Linked DNA regions of Homo sapiens: region 1 is linked to region 2. Evidence: promoter capture Hi-C in 16 types of primary human blood cells and fetal thymus (Javierre and others, 2016). All regions are on one chromosome and are shown on one strand. Each heading gives the region's core, a stretch centred on a gene start or on the middle of the fragment in contact. The rest is flanking DNA. Distances are from core to core; before and after follow the strand shown. Region 1 overlaps PACS2 (phosphofurin acidic cluster sorting protein 2). Region 2 holds the start of GPR132 (G protein-coupled receptor 132).

Evidence for each region. The method cuts DNA at HindIII sites, captures the fragments that hold promoters and counts their contacts. A CHiCAGO score of 5 or more calls a contact.
Region 1: a fragment that was not itself captured here is called in contact with the fragment with the promoter of GPR132 in region 2 in 2 of 17 cell types (non-activated CD4 T cells and naive CD4 T cells); the score reaches 5.5 in non-activated CD4 T cells.

Annotation. Positions count from the first base shown.
Region 1 is chr14:105,353,365-105,358,864 of GRCh38, forward strand. It overlaps PACS2 (phosphofurin acidic cluster sorting protein 2), which reads left to right. Exons shown (of 25, transcript NM_001100913.3): 4 at 1,688-1,813. Among named protein-coding and RNA genes, the nearest start is that of PACS2, 41 kb to the left of the region's middle. The HindIII fragment of the contact is 1,978 bases long and covers 3,021-4,998 here.
Region 2 is chr14:105,062,365-105,067,520 of GRCh38, forward strand. It overlaps GPR132 (G protein-coupled receptor 132), which reads right to left and starts at 3,066. Exons shown (of 4, transcript NM_013345.4): 1 at 3,015-3,066. RefSeq lists enhancers at 1,285-1,344, 1,755-1,894, 3,572-4,089, 3,765-3,934, 4,145-4,214 and 1 more. The HindIII fragment of the contact is 11,012 bases long and covers 1-5,156 here.

The sequences.
Region 1 (5,500 bases), core at 2,760-5,259, 290 kb after region 2:
GGGGTGATGGCCCCCCCTCATCACTGTCCCCTGGGGTGACGGCCCCCCCTCATCACTGTCCCCTGGGGTGATGGGCCCCCTCATCACTGTCCCCTGGGGTGAGAGCATTTGTCTCATCATTGCCATCAGTGTCCTGCGTTACTGCAGATCTTCTGTTGATTATGGTTTATTCTTAAATGATTAGAAGATTTGTATTTGTTTATTAGGTTGAGTTTTTCTTTGTTTTTTCTTTGTTTTTTGTTTGTTTGTTTGTTTTTGAGATGGAGTCTCTCCTTGTCACCCAGGCTGGTGCAGTCTTGGCTCACTGCAACCTCCACCTCCCGAGTTCAAGCGATTCTCCTGCTTCAGCCTCCCGAGCAGCTGGGATTACAGGCATGTGCCACCACGCCCGGCTATTTTTCGTATCTTTAGTTGAGACGGGGTTTCACCATGTCGGCCAGGCTGGTCTCGAACTCCTGACTGCATGATCTGCCTGCCTCGGCCTCTCAAAGTGCTGGGATTACAGGCGTGGGACACCATGCCCAGCCTAGTTTTTCATTCCTTATCTATGATAAAGAGAATATAAGGCCGGGTGTGGTGGCTCATGCCTGTAATCCCAGCACTTCGGGAGGCCGAGGTAGGTGGCAGGAGAATCGCTTGAACCCGGGAGGTGGAGGTTGGTTGCAGTGAGCTGAGATCATGCCATAGCACTCCAGCCTGGGGGACAGAGTGAGACTCCATCTCAAAAAAAAGAGAGAATATAATAACGAGGGCAAAAAAACACTTACTGAGTCAAGGCTATTTTGCTCTTCTATTTAAAAAGATAGGGGAAACTCAGAGTTCACAAGCAATCCCAGCTCTTCGGGAGGCTGAGGCAGGAGGATTGCTTGAACCCAGGAGGTGGAGGTGACAGTGAGCCCGGCTAATTTTTGTATTTTTGTAGAGATGGGGTTTTGCCATGTTGGCTAGGGTGGTCTCGAACTCCCTACCTCAGGTGATCCGCCCAGCTTGGCCTCCCAAAGTGCCGGGATTACAGGTGTGAGCCACCGCGCCTGGCCCAATGCTCCATGGTTCAGTGGGTTTTGATAGGCATGCTCAGGCATGTCAGCACCACCGCAGTTAGGGTGGTGAACAGCCCCATTTTCCCCTAAGTATTTAAACTGATTTTTATTTGTGAACTCTGAGTGTCTAAGAGATACCTGTGAACATCAGCTTGCTGGAGCCCTGCTGGACAGGGAGCCTGTGGTGAGACGTGCAGGCGAGTTGGGTGAACAGGGGGCCTCGGAGGGAGAGCCCTCCCCGCCCTGTGTGCCCCTCGCGGAAAAGCGTCCTGGGTCCCACCTTGCTGATTGCCTCAGGCACATGAGCCGCCACACTGTTTCCGAGTGTCCACAGGCGCGCTCGGCCATCCCGGACACTGCAGCACATAGTCCTTGTCCACCTGCCATGGCTGTTAGCGTGGCGCGGAGCCCTCAGGGCCTGAGCTCTGGCGACTGGCTCACTCTTGATTGTGTTGGGTAAAGGATGGGCTCTGGGGACCGGCATGCCACTGGGATGAACTTGGGGGCCCGTCTGTGGGTGCCCTTCCGATCTCATGGGCAGCAGGTTGGCCTGGTCGCAGGCTGCAGGGTGGCTGGGCCGTCAGAGGCCGTGATGCTGCCTGGGGCCCCGGTGCACCCTCAGCTGCCACTCGCACTTGTGCCCACAGTATCCTCACTTCTTGAAGAGGGAAGGCAACAAGCTTCAGATCATGCTGCAGCGCAGAAAGCGCTACAAGAACAGAACCATCCTGGGCTACAAGACGCTGGCCGCGGGCTCCATCAGCATGGCTGAGGTGAGTGCTCCGTCTGGCGTGGCCTGCGTCGGGCTGGCCACCTGGGTGCCAGAGCATTCGCCCGTGGGAGATGGAGATGTCTCTCCCGGGTCCAGATGTCCAGGGATCAGGTGAAAATGATGAGAGGAGCCTGGGCGGCCGGGCTCCGCCATAAGGGCCAGGTGCGGCCCCAGGTGGTGCTTCCTCTCTGACCTTCCCTTGCCGCCTAGCATGGCTCCCCGCATGCCTGCAGCCGCGCGCACTCCCCTCTAACGAGCCTGTCCTGCCCTTCAGTGGAGGCTGGGTTTTGGGTCAGGCTGCTCTGGAGTCCTTCCCATGGAGGAATCGCTGCTGTCCCCACACCACGGGTGCGTCCTGTGATGGGTTCGTGTCTGCATCCTGCTCAGCACGTGCTCTGGCCCAGGATTGGCTGAGCAGGAGCAGGACAGGTGTCAGTTCTGTGAAGGGGCTAGCGACAATACCCGAGCAGGGCGGGGGCAGCACCCAGAGGTCAGAGGGGTGGCTGGAGTTCCCTGGAGGGGAAAGAAGGGGAAGTACCTCAAAAGGAAAAGAAACAGCCAAGCAGCAGCCCACCTTGCTCCAGAGAACCCAGCGTTCCAAGGAGGCTGCAGTAGGGCGTGGGGGCCTGGGAGAAGACACCCCAGGCTGAGGCCTCGGACTTTCTCATGGACCCTTTCGGGGCTGCAAGATTGGCTCTGGGAGAAGGGGCAGCCCAGGGCCCCAGACCAGTTTGTCTCTTTTGCTTCAGAACTTTCCCCATCGTGGGGTTGTGTTCAGGGGTCCAGGGGCTGCGGGCGTGAGTGGTGCTTGGGGCATGTGAAGCTGGGTTGCTGCCTGCCTGGGGCCTGGGAAGGTCAGCCAGCGCAGCCCCTCATTGGGAGCCGGAGATGCCAGAGCCCCCCAGCCCCTCTTCTTCCCACTTTGTCCCCCTGCTCCTGGGGCTTGGGGCTGGGACAGTGGGGGTGCCCACTTGTAGCTGGTTCCCCCACACCCCCAGGCCCAGCCTGCAGGCCTCCTGTCTCCCAGGTCAAGCGCTAGGTCCCCCAGATCCTCACACACCCCCACTTACGCATCCAGGACAAGTGCCAAGTACTACTCTGGGCTCAGCCCTCCCTGCTACCCCAGGAGATGGGAGCGTGGAGGGTACAGGAAGCAGCAGTGGCGTCCCGAGGCCTCGCTTCTCCGTGCCGCCGCAGGGCCTCAGACAAGCTTTGCAGTCTTCCCGATTCCTTCGGCAAACCACGGACAGCACGGGTGGACCGGGCCTCCAGGCTGCACTTCCCAGGGCCCTGGGACCCCTCTGGTGGCCTGGAGCTGCCCATCATCCCAGCCTCCCTCCTGCAGGCTGAGCGATGGGTGAACAGGTAGCTCAGGGATGCTCTCTGGGCTGTGAGAGCCTCCTGGGAGCCACCGCTTGCTTCCTGTGGAGCAGGAGGGTCCAGGCACTGTGGGGAGGTCATGCAGGCTCTGTTTCCCATTAGCCATGCAGGCGAGGTCCTGCTGATCCCTGCCGGTCCCTGTGTTTCCCATTAGCCATGCAGGCGAGGTCCTGCTGATCCCTGCCGGTCCCTGTGTTTCCCATTAGCCATGCAGGCGAGGTCCTGCTGATCCCTGCCGGTCCCTGTGTTTCCCATTAGCCATGCAGGCGATGTCCTGCTGATCCCTGCCGGTCCCTGTGTTTCCCATTAGCCATTCAGGCGATGTCCTGCTGATCCCTGCTGGTCCCTGTGTTTCCCATTAGCCATGCAGGCGATGTCCTGCTGATCCCTGCCGGTCCCTGTGTTTCCCATTAGCCATGCAGGCGATGTCCTGCTGATCCCTGCTGGTCCCTGTGTAGCCATGCAGGTGATGTCCTGCTGATCCCTGCCGGTCCCTGTGAGCTCCTGCCCCAGGCTGCTCCGCCCACATCTCTCAGTCTGCACCCCAGTGCCCCAGGCGGCTCCTCCCAGCCCCTCTCAGCACTGGTGCTTCTGTGTTTGACGTCCTTGCCCTGAATGCTGGCCTCTGCTCCCAGGCCCCTCCCTCACCTGTCCTCCCAGCCTTGGGCTGTCCCCTCCTGATCCCCGGGGAGAGGCTGGAGCAACCTTCCCCCACCCCAGGTCACACCAGCCACATCGTCTGCTGCTTGAAATCCCATCATCTGTTCTTCACTCTTGGCAGAAAAGCCCCACCCCTGGATGTAGTTCCAGTGCCCTGCCCCTGAGCCTGTGGCCCCCACCCCAAGGCTCCCTCGCCCTGCACCTGTGGCTTCCAAAGCCGAGGTCATCTGACTGCTCCTCGCTCTCCCCTCCAGCATCTCCTCCAGGCCCTCGGGGCATCCTTCCACCTTCCACTGGCAGCCTGGTCCCAGAACCTAGTTGGGTCCTCCCATGTGTCCCCGAGCACCAGGGCGGTTCATGGGCTCCCTGTGTCCTGCCACCTTTTGGGGCTGGTTCCCACCTGTGAGCGTTGCTGGCTTGTTGAGAGTATGAGCACGGGAGATTGCGGAGGCGGGACAGCCCCGAGGGCACAGACGGACACAGGTGGCAGAGGTGGGGGGCTCTCACCAGCTGGGCTCAGGCAGCTGTGCCATGGGGGCTTGCTGGCTCCGAGACTGCACGCCTGAGACGGGGGTGAGGGCATGGGTGCTGCCATAGGGACTGTCGTGAGAGTGGGGTGTCGGTGAGGCTGGCGCCATGCATTTGAGAGTAGTGCTCGGCGGTGGGGAAGGGTCCTTGAGGGCACAGGGTGGGGTGAGGCGGGCTGTTGGGCGGACTCGAGGCCAGGGCTGAGAGTGTGGTGGGAGAGGATGTGGGGGGCACCTGCCCAGGACCTCCAGGCTGTGGGGAGACCAGGAGGCGATGGCTGTGGGGACACAGGTGTCATCTCCCTTCAAATGGGTGCACACGCAGGGGGCAGGAGGGGCTGGGAGCAGCCTGGGCCCCTGCCACACCATAGCTCTGCCCTCACCTGGCACTCATTCTGTGTGAGCTGAGGCCCAGAGCCCTGGACTTACTCTGAGGCTGAGGAAGTGGAGTCCAAGGTGGCCCAGGGTAGGGGCCGGGCCTCATGGGTGCCAGGAGCTGGACGCCGGCGTGGGGTGGCTTAGGTCTGCAGGCTGACCAGCAGTTCTGGCTGGGACCATCAGGAGTGACCGCAGCCCCAGGGCCTGCTGGGCACGCGCCTCTGCCTGCCACTTCTCAGGAAGCTTGAGCTGACTGCAGGTGGTCCCTCTCAGAGGCAGCTCCGCAGAGGCAGGTGTGCGGTGGGGGCAGACGTGGGGCCTTCTCCTGTGGTGTGGCTCTCAGAACTCACCCCAGCACCCGTAGAGGGAGTGTGTAGGGGTGGGCGTTCGTGTGGCCAGACCACCCTGGGGCTGCAGCCTGGGAGACGCAGGCATGCCAGCTGGTGGCCATTGTCTGAGGCTGGGGCCTGTGGGCTCCCCGACAAGACAGGAAGGTTGACAGACCCATGACCAGGCGAAGGGGTGACCTGGGAGTGCGGTGGTGGCTGAGGGAGCAGCCATGCTTCTTTGCACAGCCGGACTCCTCTTGTGGCCTCGCCACAAGCTGCACATGCCACTGGGGCCAGGTCCAGCCCAAGGGGACCTGTGAGGGGCGGGCGGCTCATGGTGGGACACAGGAAGACCTCAGGGTAAGGACAGCGCGGGAGCGTCACCCTGACCGTTTGCATGCTGGATTCCCTTTA
Region 2 (5,156 bases), core at 1,816-4,315:
CTCCCTGGACTTCTCTCTCCTGTGTCCAACCCGCCTTTCTCCCACTCAGCGTGTCAGCTCCGAGGCTGCTCTGCCTCACACTTTCCGTGCTTCTTCCATGAACCCATGTTTTCTCTTTCTTTTTTTCTTTTGCCTTTTTTGCCTTTTCTTTCTTTTCTTTCTTTTCTTTTCTTTTCTTTTTTTTTTTTTTTTTTGAGATGGAGTCTTGCTCTGTTGCCCAGGCTGGAGTAAAGTGGCGCGATCTTGGCTCACTGCAACCTCTACCTCCCAGGTTCAAGCAATTCTCCTGCCTCAGCCTCCCGAGTGGTTGGGACTACAGGCACACCACCACGTCCAGCTACTTTTTTTGTATTTTTAGTAGAAACAGGGTTTTGCCATGTTGCCTAGGCAGGTCTTGAACTCCTGGGCTCCAATGATCCTCCTGCCTCAGCCTCCCAAAGTGCTGGGATTACGGTGTGAGCCACTACGCCCAGCTTTTTTTTCTTTAAATACTATTAAAATTGTTCTCTCTCTCTCTCCCTAACCCTCTCCCTCTCTCTCTTGCTTTATTTGTTTGTTTGTTTGTTTATTTATTTATTTGGAGACAGGGTCTTGCTCCCTCATCCAGGCTGGAGTACAGTGGCAAAATCTCTGCTCACTGAAACCTCCACCTCCCAGGCTCACATCATCCTCCCTTCCGAGTAACTGGGACTACAGGCACCTGCTGCCATGCCCAGTTAATTTTTGTACTTTTATTCTTAGAGACGAGGTTTCCCTATGTTACCCAGGCTGGTCTCGAGCTCCTGGGCTCAAGAAATCCGCCGGCCTCGGTCTCCGAAAGTGCTGGGAATACAGGCGTGAGCCACCATGCCCGGCCAATGAATCCATTTTCCAGATTAGAGAAGCACCACATGTTCCTGGGATGGACATTTCAATAACAGGATCTAGCATGACCTCACCCAGCCACTGTCCCTGGAGCTCTCTGGCCTGCAAGTTGCTGTGCTCCTCCAGTCTTTTAAAATCTATTTTGTAACTTTTTTTTTTTTTTTAGGCTGAGTTTCTCTCTCGTTGCCCAGGCTGGAGTGCAATAGCACGATCTTGGCTCACTGCAACCTCTGCCTCCCGGGTTCAAGTGATTCTCCTGCCTCAGCCTCTGAAGTAGCTGGGATTAGCAGGCGCCTGCCACCATGCCCGGCTAATTTTTTGTATTTTTAGTAGAGAAGGGGTTTCGCCATATTGGTCAGGCTGGTCTTGAACTCCTGACCTCAGGTGATCCGCCCGCCTCGGCCTCCTAAAGTGCTGGGATTACAGGTGTGAGCCACCACGCCCAGCCTGTTTTGTAACTTATGATGGAACTTTTCAGACAGACACAAAAGGACAGAGAAGGAGCCCTGGCCCCTGCCATGTGCAGGGAGCAGTTCCTCATTCCAGCCCATTTGTCAAAAACAGCTCCTCAGGCTGCTGAGGTCTGTCTTGTGGACTATCTGTAATTTCTTTCTTTCTTTTTTTTTTTGAGACAGAGTTTCGCTCTCGTTGCCCAGGCTGGAGTGCAATGGCACGATCTCGGCTCACCACAACCTCCACCTCCTGGGTTCAAGTGAGTCTCCTGCCTCAGCCTCCCAAGTAAATGGGATTACAGGCGTGTGCCACCACGCCCGGCTAATTTTGTATTTTTAGTAGAGACAGGGTTTCACCATATTGGTTACGCTGGTCTCGAACTCCTGACCTCAGGTGATCCACCTGCCTTGGCCTCCCAAAGTGCTGGGATTACAGGCGTAAGCCACCGCACCTGGCTGGATTGCCTGTAATTTCTAAGCTGTTTCACGGTTGCTGGCCATTCCTAGCCATTTCCGTCTTTTACTCCCACCTGCTTTGGCACCAGGCAAACCTATGACCTCTTTTCTGCCGTCACGTTTGAGACAAACCCTAGGGAGGGAAATGTGGAGTCACCAGCTCCAACCTCCCTGCTCCACCACACCCATCCAAAGCCCATTGTCAACTTTCTTATTTTTCCCAATTTGATAGTGTTGCCCAGGCTAGAGTGCAATGGCGCGATCTCGGCTCACTGCAAGCTCCGCCTCTCAGGTTCAAGCGATTCTCCTGCCTCGGCCTCCCAAGTAGCTGGGATTACAGACGTGTGCCAACACGCCCGGCTAATTTTTGTATTTTTAGTAGAGACAGGGTATCACCATGTTGGTCAGGCTGGTCTCAAACTCCTGACCTCAAGTGATCCGCCCACCTCGGCCTCCCAAAGTGCTGGGATTACAGGCATGAACCACCGTGCCCAGCCCCTATCCTCATCTTCTTCCAGGAGCCTCTGCTCTCCCACCTCGGCCTGGCCAATCTCCTGAAATATCATTTTGTGCTCAGCCCAACTGGCCAGTCTTCAGTGGTCAGTCCCAGTCCCTTGCAGTGGTACAGACCCACGTCATGCACTTGACAGAAGGTATTGGGCCCCCCGCCCCGCTGTGCCTGGTGCGCCGAACGCCACTCCAAAGGCCGGTGACCTGCCCAGCTCCAGGATCTTGTCACGTGACTGGGCCAACTGCCACTCACCGCAGCACAGCCCCCACTGCCCTGCTTTTCCCTCTGTGTAACCCCACAAGCAGCACAGGCCCCACAGAGAGAAGCCCAGCCCTTCAGTGCCCCCCGACCAATCACGGAAGCAAGTGGCCAAGGAGAGATTCCAGGGACAAAGTCCAGCCCCCTGACTCACCCCCATCTGGACCAGTAGCCAGGGAAGCCTTTTCCAGAAGAAAGTCTCCAGGAAGGTGGCGGTGACAAAGATACAATGGAAACTGTTGTCCCTCTCCCCCAAATCCTCCGGCCCCATCACATCTGTGGTCACTGGGGGTCCTGGGTTCTCTCGGGAGGGACCCCAGATTAAGAACCCTCAACAAAGCCTCCATCTTTACCAACAAATCACCTTTGCCTTCAGATCCCCCTCTGCCCGCCTCCAGCTCCCAGCCCCCAGCCCCATCCCAGAGCCTGGCCCCCCAGGCCCACTCCCCAGCACGCAGAGCCCAGCGACTTACCCAGGGCCCCGCCTGCGTGGCTAGCCTCGCACCCCTCCCTGCAGTCCTAGCTGAGGTTTCAGGAAGTAGCAGGGGTCTAATTATGTTCTGTCTAGAACTCCCCTAACCACAAACAGGGCTGAGCTAGGGGTTAGCCAACCGGGCTGGGGTATCTTACTGGTGATGACAGCATGGCCTCGTCACCTTCCTGAGGGAGGGAGTGGCAGGAAACCCCAGTCTTACCTCTTTTAGCAATAGCAGCACTCAGAGCCAGGCTCCACTCACTCAGGAGCTCCCAGGCAGGTGCTGGGGCCTGGCGCGGCACAGCGGCTGTCCGTGTGTCCCCAGACAGGCAAGGCAGGACAGGGGTCCTGGAAAGGCTGCAGGGAGGGGTCCTGGAAAGACAAAATCCAGCTCCTCTGCAGCTCAGGCCTGGTGTTGCCCACTCTCGGGCCAGGCAAGCACGGAGCAGGGTGACTTCCCAGAGGCTGTGTCCTCCCAGGAGTCCCTGTCCGGGGTGCCAGGAGTAGAGAGGCTGAGTGCGCCCACTGCAGCCCCGGGACCAGGATGGCACCTGCATGTCCTGGAAGGCTCGGCACAGCCACTGCACACAAGCACCCTCCCCTCCCCGCCTCCCTCTTCCTACATGGGGCAGGGCCGTGTGGGAAGAACAGCCTACTGCACACTCCACATTCCTCCCCCAGCCCTACCTCAACCCCTCCTGCATCCAGAACCAAGCCTGGCCTGGCCCAGGAGCCCTGCGGGTGGGCTTCTCTGTGAGGGGCCCTGTGGGAACTGGAGGGTGGGCAGGCAGGGTTGCCTGGGACAGTCCCCCTCACTGTGGGGCTTCCGGCCATGATGGGCCCAGTTTCCTTGGACAAAGCCAGCTGGCTGTGGACAGCACCTACAACTCCACTCACCTCCAGGCTGCTTCTGAGTTTCAGGGCACAGACCCACCCTGGTGCCCACTCCCGAGCCTGCCAAGCTCCATCCAAGCCAGGCTCTTTCAGCAGTGGGGACAGGGCCGGGCTGAGGGAAGGAGCTGGGGACCACAAATGTCTCCAAGCGACACTGCCCAGCACCGCAGCAGGGACGGTCACTGAGCGAAGAAGCCGCCATCCTGGGTGGGTACACCCACGGCCAGGAGAGGCCGGTGGAGGCCGAGCCCCCAGTCTACACTTTCCCCCAGACACGTGGATCACAGCTGCCCCCTGCTGCAGGGCCGCATGGCTGGAGGCTGCCTCCGAACAGCGATTTCAGAGGGTTTTGTGTGGGTGGCAGTGGAGTCCCTGGAAAGCTGGGCTTTCCCATTGCCCTGGCGGGGAGGCGCAGGTCTCAGGGCAGGGCCTACCTTGGCTTTCCAGAAACACTTGCCCAGGGGACAGTGATCCTCTAGGGGATCTGGTGCAAACACACGCCTCCACAGGCCACTGCTCATGGGGTCACTGGCCTCCCGGGTCTTTGGGCCAGGGCAGCCCCACCCTCGGAGCAGCAATAGACGAAGCCCACATCAGGCCAGTGGGGGTGATGGCCAGGGACAGCTGTGGGTTCCTGTCGCTGGCCCCAGCAGCCTCCTAGGACCTGCCCCGTCCTGCGCCCCACTGGGTGGTCTGTCACGTTCACCAGGCCTCCTCTGCGCCCCCGGTGAGGGGTCCAGGAGTGACATGCGGACCCGGCTCAGGCCATTGTCACCCTCCATGCCTTCTGGCCTTTGCCAGGCAGTCCGGGAATAGCCGATTCAAGTGAGGTCAGTTGAATCCTCTCTTTGGGTCCTTCACTGGGGTCTGGGAAAGGAAAGTTGGGTCCCTTGGGTGGCAGGAGCTGTGGGTATGAACTGGGGGGTTGGCAGCCGTGTACCGGCTCCCCTGCCCCTGCCAGGTGGAGAAGCCAGGCTGGGGTGGAGGGCAGGCAGGAGCCTGGGAGTCCAAACACTGACAGCCTGGGGGTGTGGACTGGCCCTGCCTATTCCCACCGGGCCTTCGGGACCAGTGGAGGCTGCCCCGGGCTGTGCGGCACCTGGGGTGTTGTCTCTGAGAAGCCCGTCAGGGAGATGGCTCTCCCTGCTCTGACCCCAGCAAAGCGATTCATACCCAGAGAATCCCTCACCAACAGGAGAGCAGGTTTCAGACAGGAAGTCACCCGAACATCCCACGGCTGAGTCAC